Linked DNA regions of Homo sapiens: region 1 is linked to region 2. The links are contacts of gene promoters, found by promoter capture Hi-C in human tissues and cell types (Jung and others, 2019). All regions are on one chromosome and are shown on one strand. Each heading gives the region's core, a stretch centred on a gene start or on the middle of the fragment in contact. The rest is flanking DNA. Distances are from core to core; before and after follow the strand shown.

Evidence for each region. The method cuts DNA at HindIII sites, captures the fragments that hold promoters and counts their contacts. A contact is called where the count stands out against the background at its distance.
Region 1: a fragment that was not itself captured here is called in contact with the fragment with the promoter of CHST6 in region 2 in 3 of the 25 tissues and cell types used here (H1 embryonic stem cells, aorta and heart right ventricle).

Annotation. Positions count from the first base shown.
Region 1 is chr16:75,614,370-75,619,572 of GRCh38, forward strand. It overlaps ADAT1 (adenosine deaminase tRNA specific 1), which reads right to left. Exons shown (of 10, transcript NM_001324445.2): 4 at 4,217-4,271; 5 at 2,773-2,903. Among named protein-coding and RNA genes, the nearest start is that of ADAT1, 6.3 kb to the right of the region's middle. The HindIII fragment of the contact is 7,833 bases long and covers 1-5,203 here.
Region 2 is chr16:75,494,042-75,498,835 of GRCh38, forward strand. It overlaps CHST6 (carbohydrate sulfotransferase 6), which reads right to left and starts at 1,400. Exons shown (of 3, transcript NM_021615.5): 1 at 899-1,400. RefSeq lists an enhancer at 794-973 and a silencer at 1,274-1,603. The HindIII fragment of the contact is 2,567 bases long and covers 508-3,074 here.

The DNA of each region.
Region 1 (5,203 bases), core at 1,192-3,691, 120 kb after region 2:
CTTACAGGAAACAGAAGAAAACTAGAGGTCAGTAAGAACCACAGCTCTCCCTTGAGAAGCGAAAGATTTCTTCAAACACTAACCTGATGAGTGTTGCTTTTCTAAAGTGTATAAATAATACATCTGTAATCTTTATAACTCAAGAGTGGGAAAGGCAAGAGATACAGAAGTGGGAATACATCTGGAGAGGTTGGCTGGCTGACTTCCAGAGACCTCACAAGGTCACAGTGACTTTGGAGAACTCACCAGGGTCCATCTCCCACTCTGCAGGCTTGGAAATTGGATCTTGACAGAATGCCTGAATGCAAGAGCCTGACTCATGCTAATAAAACTCATAAGAGCCTGAAGTAGCTAACCCAGCCAACAAATTATTAATTACTCATAGGATGTAAATACCAAGGGAGCCAGAGAGGCACATTCTCTAGGTAATGTTCTCTCTCTCTGCAGACAAACCATGGGAGGACATCACATTTTAAAAGATTACCAGCAAAATTTCCTGAAGATTTTTAAGATGAACAGAGGGTTGCCAACTTTTTATTCCATCAAGGAAGATCTTTAAAAATCTCAATTACCGGCCAGGCGCAGTGGTTCATGCCTGTAATCTCAGCACTTTGGGAGGCCGAGGTGGGCGAATCACTTGAGGTCAGGAGTTCGAGACCAGCCTGGCCAATGTGGTGAAACCCTGTTTCTACTAAAAATACAAAAAAATTAGCCGGGCGTGGTGGCGCATGCCTATATTCCCACCTACTTGGGAGGCCAAGGCAGGAGAATCGCCTGGACCCGGGAGGTGGAGATTGCAATGAGCCGAGATCGAGAAAAAAAAAAAAAATTCAATCGCCATCACTTAAAAAAAAACTCTCATTTCCTTTAAAGTGAAAGAAATTAGTTTTGCAAAATTCACTACATAGTCTTGAGCTTTCTTGGTTTTTTTCAGGGACTGTTCTCACAGATCAGTACCTGTTTGTTGACCACTGACTTAAGGAGTTTGATAAGGGCATAATCAAACTACATAAGTGTCCAGTATTTTGGCTTCCCTGGGCCACATTGGAAGAATAAAAATTGTCTTGGGCCACACACAAAATACACGAACGCAAACGATAGTTGATGAGCTAAAAAAAAAAAAAAAAAAAAAAAAAAAAAAAAAAAATCGCAAGAAAAATCTCATAATGTTTTAAGAAAGTTTAAGAATTTGTCTTGGGCCACATTCAAAGCTGTCCTGGGCTGCATGTAGCCAGGCAGGCCGTGGGTTAGACAAGTTTGGATTAGGCCATCAGGCTGTGATCCTCAGATGCTTCTTTCTCCACAATAAGGCTATAGCTGTCACTGGGATCACCCCGGTCCTAGCTACTCAATGTGTGGTCTATGGACCCACACTGCTGGCATGCCTTGGGAGTTGGCTAGAAATGCAGAACCTCAGGCCCCACTCCAGACCTAATGAATCTCAATCTGCATGTTCTTCAGGAGATTCATGTGCATATTACAGCTTGAGAGGAGCTGATTAGGAAACAACCTTTGGGCCTTGGACTAGGGCCCTTACGGCTAAGAAAAGAGCAAGGATGAGTGCTGCCTACCTGTCATTTTTCTGGGCTTTGACTCTTAAAACTCTTTTCTCATACTCTTTCTTTCTTCTCTCTCTTTTTTTTTTTTTCCCTTCTTTTTGACTGAGTCTTGCCGGGTCATCCAGGCTGGAGTGCAACGGCGCAATCTCGGCTCACTGCAACTTCTGCCTCCCGGGTTCAAATGATTCTCCTGCCTCAGCCTCCCGAGTAGCTGGGATTACAGGCATGCACCACCATGCCCAGCTAATTTTGTATATTTAGTAGAAATGGGGTTTCTCCATGTTGGTCAGGCTGGTCTGGAACTCTCGACCTCAAGTGATCTGCCCGCCTCGGACTCCCAAAGTCCTGGCATTACAGGTGTGAGCCACCGTGCCTGGCCTCATTCTTTCTTAAGCTGTATCTATATTTTCAATTTGAGTTATGATCAAATCTACACAGCTATTCTATTTCTTCATAGTGATTTCTTATCTCTGCTCTAATTGCATGTGTTAGCTTTAAAGCTTAAAAGTTTTAAGGTTTAATCTTATATCCTTATTTCAAAGGTTTTAGGGTGAGAAAATTTTGCTGCCATCCTGAGTTGTTATCCACAAAAGGTAGAAGTTATTTTCAATTTTTAAGAAAGAAAAACAAAAGACGGAAATGACACCCCCTTCACCCCAGGCTAGGTCTTCCTGTCTTATGCAACCATAGCACCTGAACATACCCTTATAACCCACCAAAATTTACCCTAACTAACCATGACTGTCTACATTTCCTAAAAGACTATGAAGGTAAGCAATATGCTAGTCTTATTCATTTCTGTATACTCAGTATGTCATATCGTGCCTGACAAATAGTAGAAAGTATTTGTTCAATGACTAAATGAACGAAATGAGTTTTAGGATAAGTCACTATAGGATTTCCAAGCCCCATGTTGGCTTCACATCTTGTGAGGTTTCAGCCTTACGCTCCTAATCCTGATTCTGAGAATTGACTAATAGTATGAGTGAGACTCTGCACCCCTTGCCTCTGTCTTCTCTTTAGATGAAACCTTTAGAAGTGATTAGGTACACTAGCCTGTCATAAAAAGGCACTGTCACTACTTGTGGCTACTTGTGACTACCTGTGGCTACTTCAGCCATTAGTGCTTTTTAGGAAAAAACCTACCTATGGATAACACAAACATAAGGAAGTAGTTCATGTAACATTAATCCAAAGGCTTGAATATACTTACAGGGTGTATGGCTGGAGAAAAACACAAAAATGAGGTCTCGTCTAAGTTTCCACACTCCTTTTTGAGTTCCTGGGACAAAGATGCTATCCTCTTTCAGGGTGGCTGCCAACTGGAGTTGGTGGAGAAGGTACCTAAGGGTTGCAAGATGTTATTAGGATGAACAACCGATCTCTGTGGTAAGGGGAAAGCCTCTGGTTGGGTGATTACTAAGACAGCTTACTGTAGACTAATGGGACTGGTAGTGATGGGGAATTATGAGAATGCTCTAGACCAGTGATTCTCAAAGTGTGGTCCCTGTACCAGCAGCATCAGCATCACCTGGGAATTTGTTAGACCTCCAATTTCAACTGGCCTCGGTGGCTCATATCTGTAACCCCAGCTACTTGGGAGACTGAGGCAGGAAGACTGCTTAAGCCCAGGAGTTTGAGGCTGTAGTGAGCTATGATTCTGCCACTGTACTTCAGCTTGGGTGACAGAGTGAGACTCTATTTTTGTTTCTTTTTTTTTTTTTAGAAAAATAAAAAAGAAAGAAGAAACCCAATTTCTGAGGTTCCACCCTAGATATGCTGAATCAGAATCTCTGTGGTGGGCTCAGCAATCTGGGTTTTAACAAGCCTTCTAGGTTCTTCTGATGTACAATCAAGTTTGAGTACCACTAGTCCAGGCCAGGATTGTGACTCATGCCTGTAAATCCGGCACTTTAGGAGGCTGAGGCAGGAGGATCGCTTGAGCCCCAGGAATCCAACACCAGCCTGGGTAGCATAGTGACACCCTGTCTTTAAAAAAAAAAAAAAACCCAGGAAAAGTTAGCTGGGTGTGGTGGCATGCGCCTGTAACCCCAGCTATTCAGGAGGCTGAGGTGGGAGGCTTGCTTGAGTCCCAGGAGGCCAAGGCTGCAATGAGCTGAGATCACATCACTGCACTCTAGCCTAGGTAACAGAGCAAGACCCTGTGTCCAAAAAAAAAAAAAAAAAAAAAAAAAAGAGAGAACCACTAGTCTAGACCACATTACTACTCAAAAGTGTAGTTTACAGACTAATATCATCTGTATTACCTAGGAGCTTATTAGAAATGTAAATTCTGGGTGAGGCGCGGTGGCTCACACCTGTAATCCCAGCACTTTGAGAGACTGAGGCGTGTGGATAATGAGGTCAGGAGTTTAAAACCAGCCTGGCCAGCATGGTGAAACCCCATCTCTACTAAAAACACAAAAAATTAGTTGAGCATGGTGGCACGGGCCTGTAGTCTCAGCTACTTGGGAGGCTGAGGCAGGAGAATTGCTTGAACCCAGCAGGCGGAGGTTGCAGTGAGCTGAGATCATGCCACTGCACTCCAGCCTGGGCAACAGAGCAAGACTCTGTCCCCCCCAAAAAAAAAAAAAAAAGTAAATTCCGGGACTCCCACCCCAGTCCTGCTGAACCATACTCTGGAGATGTGGCTTTACCTTTGGAAACTCCTTCTGGCTATGACCTCAGCATGGCTATCATTGAGGATGTCTCCTGCGGCAAAGATAGGACACCAGGTGAAGACATATGGAAGCTGGAGAGGGTCTGGTTCCTAGAAGCAGAACACAGCAGTCCCACCAGCACCCAGGATGGTCATGTAGCTCCTGGAGAGCTTTGCCAGAAGGTACCACAATCATGAATAACAATGCATCAGGTGCAGGGTTTCTCAACCCAGCACTGTAGACATTTTGGGCCAGAAAATTTTTTGTTGTGGGGGATCTATTCCATCCATACACTGTAGACTGTTTATTAGTAGTATTCCTGGCCTCTACCCATGAGATGACACTAGCACCCCTCCCTCAGTTGTGACAACTAAAAATGTCTCTAGACATTGCGAAATGTCCTCTGGGATGCAAATCACCCCCAGGTGAGAAACATTAATTTATAGAAAAACCTCATTCGGAGAACAAAGGTCTAGATCTTTTGTACAGAAGTATCCTACTTGTGCTCATGGTGGTACAATTCCATCTAATCCAATCCACAGTGATCCTGGAACAGGTTCCTCATATACAGGAGGTTAAGGCAAGGAGAATGGTAGAAGCCAACTCAAAGAGGAACCTGCTAGCTAGAAGAGGTAAAGACCCCAGATCTCGGCCAGGGACGCAATAGCTCATGCCTGTAATCCCAGCACTTTGGGAGGCCAAGGCAGGAGGATAGCTTGAGGCTGGGAGTTTGAGACCAGCCTGGCTAACACAGTGAGACCAAATCTCTACAAAATAAAAATGAAAAAAATTAGCTGCACATAGGTGTGCATAGCTGTGCACACCTATAGTCCAGCTACTCAGGAAGCTGAAGTGGGAGGATCACTTGAGCCCAGGAGTTCAAGGCTGCAGTGAGCTATGATAGTACCACCGTACTTCAGTGAGACCCTGTCTCTTAAAAAAAAAAAAACCACTGAAACAGACAAATAAAAACCCCCAGATCTC
Region 2 (4,794 bases), core at 150-2,649:
ACCATGTTGGCCAGGCTGGTCTTGAACTCCTGACCTCAGGTGATCCACCTGCCTCGGCCTCCCAAAGTGCTGGGATTACAGGCGTGAACCACTGCGACTGGCCTTAGAAGCTTGGCTTCTGAAGCCGGATTGGGTTCAAATCCTGTCTCTACTACCAGTGAGGGGTGTGACTTAGAGCAAGTCACTCTCTGGCTCTCTATACTCCAGTTGACTCTGTTTGTAGAACAAAGCCAGAAAAGTTCCGGCCTCTCAGGCTGGAGAGGAGCCCAGCCCCAGCTCCCGGAGCAGCATAGCACCCTCAGAGGCCCTGGTACTTGGCCTACTCGCTTGTGGGTTTAAGTCAGCCAACTCCTTTCTGCTCTTCAGGCCTCAGTTTTCCCATCCTCAAAAATGGGAAACTTGACTGCCTTGCCTCTGTGAAAAAGGGAGGAGAAAGGAAAGTCAACATTTGCTAGGCACCTGTCCTGAGGCCCAGAGGGCCTGTCCTGAAGCCCAAGATGAAGCCGTCAGAAGCAGTGACGCAGGACTCCAATTCCCCTGGGTCTGGTTCCAAATCAACCCGCCAAGCTACCGTCTCTCAATAATTCTATGGAAAAAGCCCTTGGAGAGCTTTTGAAAGTCATGTCCTTTGAAACTCAAGTATCGAGACAAAAGGGGTTCTCCCCTCGCAGTGAGGATTCTCCTGCGCAGCCGAAGCCCCAGCAAGACACTTCCAAACCGGCGCCAACAGCGGCGATGCCCTTTCCACGTTGCTGATGGAAAAGCCACTCCCAGCTCTTCCCGCCACCCCAGGTCCCCGGTGCAGGACAGAGGAGCGTCCCCAGCTGTGCCACCAGCCCGGCCCCCAGCCGACCCGAGTGTGGGGACATCCCCCGCGGAGAATGAAGAACCAACGTACCCCAAAGCTTGGCGGCTCTGCCCGAGCTGCAGCGGCACGGTGGGGGACGCCTCTCTCCCTGGACTCAGCAAAGGCTCCCAAACGTCGTCTCTTCCAAATTCCACCGCACAGCCAGCTCTTTCTCTTCACTGGGAGGGTCCGCAGGGGCTGACTTGCTCCTTAAGGTCCCAAGACTATTAAGCGACACCCGGTGAGGCCGGGAAAGGGGCTCTAAGAGGCATGGACGAGAGTTGGCGGTGACCAAGCCACTGGAAGCTCCTGGAGACTCGAGGTAGAACGAATGTGGGAACAGGGCAGGAGTCCCAGAATGGGATGTTGAGGCTGGGGGTGTCCTGGGGCTACCACAGGGAAGGACCCGGCGCAGAGCTCCCTCTGGAACCCGGCACTGCGGCCCGCGCCCTCTACTCCCCGCGCGCCGGCCGGCAACCCTCGGCGCTGCCCGGTGCAGCCCGCCCGAGCGCACACAATGAGGCGCTTTCAGACGTGGCTGCGGTCCCGAGGTGGCCAGCGGGAGCTAGCGCCGTGGGGGAAGGAAGGAGCCGGTTGGCCCACCCCCGACCGAGGGGCCACGCCTCGGGGGAGGGGCGCCGGCCGAGGGCGGGGCAGGAGGGCCCAGGTGGGCTGGGGCTCTGAGAGGCTCAACTTTTAGCCCAGAATGTCAAAGGGCGCTGGCAGAGTCACCTCTCATCTGACTACAGAGGAACGTTGTACCCCACCCCACCCCAAATCCCCAGAGAAGGGGGGCTCCTGGGAGGACAAAGGCCCTAGTGAAGGAAGTCGAATCTTAATCTTGACCCTCCTCACTCTCGGGGGCATCCTTGCGGCGAGGTGACTTGGAATCCAAACCCTTCCCAAGGCCACGGCACCTGGATGACACATGGACCCGGTGCAGTGTCCCAACTGGGAAGAGCGGAGAGACCAGGTGGCCTTAGGAGCTGGGTCCGCAGCTTTTCCCCTCCTCCTGCGCATTCCCTGCCCTAGCCTAGGCCCAGAGGCGCAGGTTCATAGCAGGTCCAGATAAAGACATGATACGTTTCAATAAATAAGATATTTCCGGCCAGGGCTGGGCGCGGTGGCTCACGCCTGTAATCCCAGCACTTTGGGAGGCCGAGGCGGGCGGATCACGAGGTCAGGAGATCGAAATCATCCTGGCTAACACAGTGAAACCCCGTCTCTACTAAAAATACAAAAAAATTAGCCAGGCCTGGTGGCGGGCACCTGTAGTCCCAGCTACTCGGGAGGCTGAGGCAGGAGAATGGCGTGAACCCGGGAGGCGGAGCTTGCAGTGAGCCGAGATCGCACCACTGCACTCCAGCCTGGGCGACAAAGCGAGACTCCCTCGCAAAAAAAAAAAAAAAAAATCCGGCCAGGCGCGGTGTCTCACGCCTGTAATCCCAGCACTTTGGGGGGCCGTAGTGGGTGGATCACGAGGTCAGGAGTTCGAGACCAGCCTGGCCAACAGGGTGAAACCCCGTCTCTACTAAAAATACAAAAATTAGCCGGGCGTGGTGGCAGGCACCTGTAATCCTAGCTACTCAGGAGGCTAAGGCAGGAGAACTGCTTGAGCCCAGGAAGCGGAGGTTGCAGTGAGCTGAGATTGCACCACTGCACTCCAGCCTGGGCGACAGAGCGAAACTGTTTCAAAAAAAAAAAAAAAAAAAATCCCCTTTACAAATAACAGGGCAGAGCCCAGGCACCTGAAAAGGATGAAGCATTTCTAGGTCTTGTCAAATTAGTGATGGGATCTTAATCAAGAACTCCCTGCTGCTGGGAGAAGAAATAAGCAGTCCTTCCTGGTTGTGGTTTGGCAAGATGAATTAAGATTCTTGACAATGGTCGTAAGCTTTTCGGATTGGTAATTCCTTTCTAGGAGCTATCTTAAGGAAATAAACCAGAAACAAGGATTTATGTACAGGGTTCATATAAGTGTTGTTCATGATTTTGATACTGATTTTTTTTTCAGATGGAGTCTCACTTTTGTAGCCCAGGCTGGAGTGCAATGGCAGGATCTAGGCTCACTGCAACCTCCGCCTCTCGAGTTCAAGTGATTCTCTTGCCTCAGCCTCCTGAATAGCTGGGATTACAGGTGCCCACCACCACGCCAGGCTAATTTTTGTACTTTTAGTAGAGACAGGGTTTCACCATGTTGTCCAGGCTGGTCTCGAACTCCTGAGCTCAGATGTGATCTGCCCGCCTCTGTCTCCCAAAGTGCTCGGATTACAGGCATGAGCCACCGTGCCCGGCCTGTTCATGATTTTTAAAAAGTTAGAAATAGTGTATGGGATAGAAAGATGTGTGCCAGAAGGCCAACCATAACTCTGGGTAGGGGATTGGCCGGCAATCATTATTTTCCTTAGGATCATGTAATTTACATTTCCTTAATCAGTATTTAGAAGTTATCTGGCCAGAAAGCTCCAAAACCTCTTTACAAAGCATGAATAAGGAGAGGGGGCAAGGATGTGGAGGATAAGGTAAGAGGGACGCAAAGAGAGAGAATTGCTTTAATAAGCTTCAAGATGGGCACTCAGTGGGGCATTAGACACCTCACCTGCTTTGGCAGAAACTGGACTAATCATTTGGAAGAATTAGAGATTTCTCTCCCACAAAACAAATTCAATAATTATCTCAAATATGACTTATCTATGGCTTCAGCTCAGTTGATAAAATCCTGTGTATTTCTTACCTTTCTTCCTCCTGCAACTATGCTGTGTGGTTCAGTTTCAGAAACTACCAATAAATGATCCGTAAATAATTTGATATTCACCAGACACAGTTGTAATTTTCCAACCCGCAGCTCCCATATGCCATGTGGATTCCACTAAAAACTAATATACTTGGGGTTGGACCAGGAAACTTTTGCCAAAGAGCTAACAAAAGCTCCAAGGTCTTTGGGCAGAGCCGTGGCAAAGCAAGGCTACTGGTGAGTAACTCGGAGAAGTGTGCTCAACTTCAGCCCTCCCTATTCTTCCTCCCTCCAAAGCCTTGCTTCAAAAATAGCTAATACAACCTTCCATGTTGAACATTTTAATTAGAAAGCTACAGAACATAATGGATTCTTTATACAAGTTTTGCATTCAAATAATTTAATAAAATGCAAACCAAAGTTTATACGTATCTTTAGCCATCTTCCCATGTTTCATTAAATTCTGGGGATTTAAACCACAAGCAATTTTTCATTTCAGTCTCAAGAGACGGGGCACACTGGCCCATGCCTATATTCCTGGCACTTTGTGGGGCTGAGACAGGAGGATTTCCTGAGGTTGGGAGTTCAAGACCAGCCTGGGCAACATAGTGAAAACCCCATCTATAAAAATAAATAAATCTCAAGAAAAAAATTTAGGCATCTAAAATAGCCAGAATATTAAAAAAAGACAAGGGGGACAGTGTTAGAGAATTCCTCTGCTTGAATACTTCAAAATAGCTTTGTTTCCAAAACTGTTTTTAGTCAGCCTAAAGGAAACGGATGCTGGAGATGAAAAATGATCTCCAAGGTAAACTGAGGCACACACTGAGGGGTGTGTTTCTGGGTGGGCATGAAGCATGGATCACCGGAGCCATGTCCTTCCAGGGGCAACGACCTGCTTGGGATCAGGAAGCAGCTCCATGTGTTCTTGGAGGAGACTGCACGCATCCTCAGGAGGTGAATCGGCTGAACAAGCCATCTTCCGTGTGCAGAGGCCCCTTCCAGCCATCTCTGCTCCTGCAGACACTTGCTTAGCCACGAGGATAATCCACTGGACTGCTTGGTATTCTGCTAGTGGCCAGGCTGGACTGGCCTGCCCAGGCCAGCATCCTCTTTACACCCTCACTGCTTCTTGTGTCCTTCCCAAAGCTGCCCGCCCCACTCTGATGGGCACCCTTTTCCTTAGTCAAGGGAAACGCCAGCCGCTGGGCTT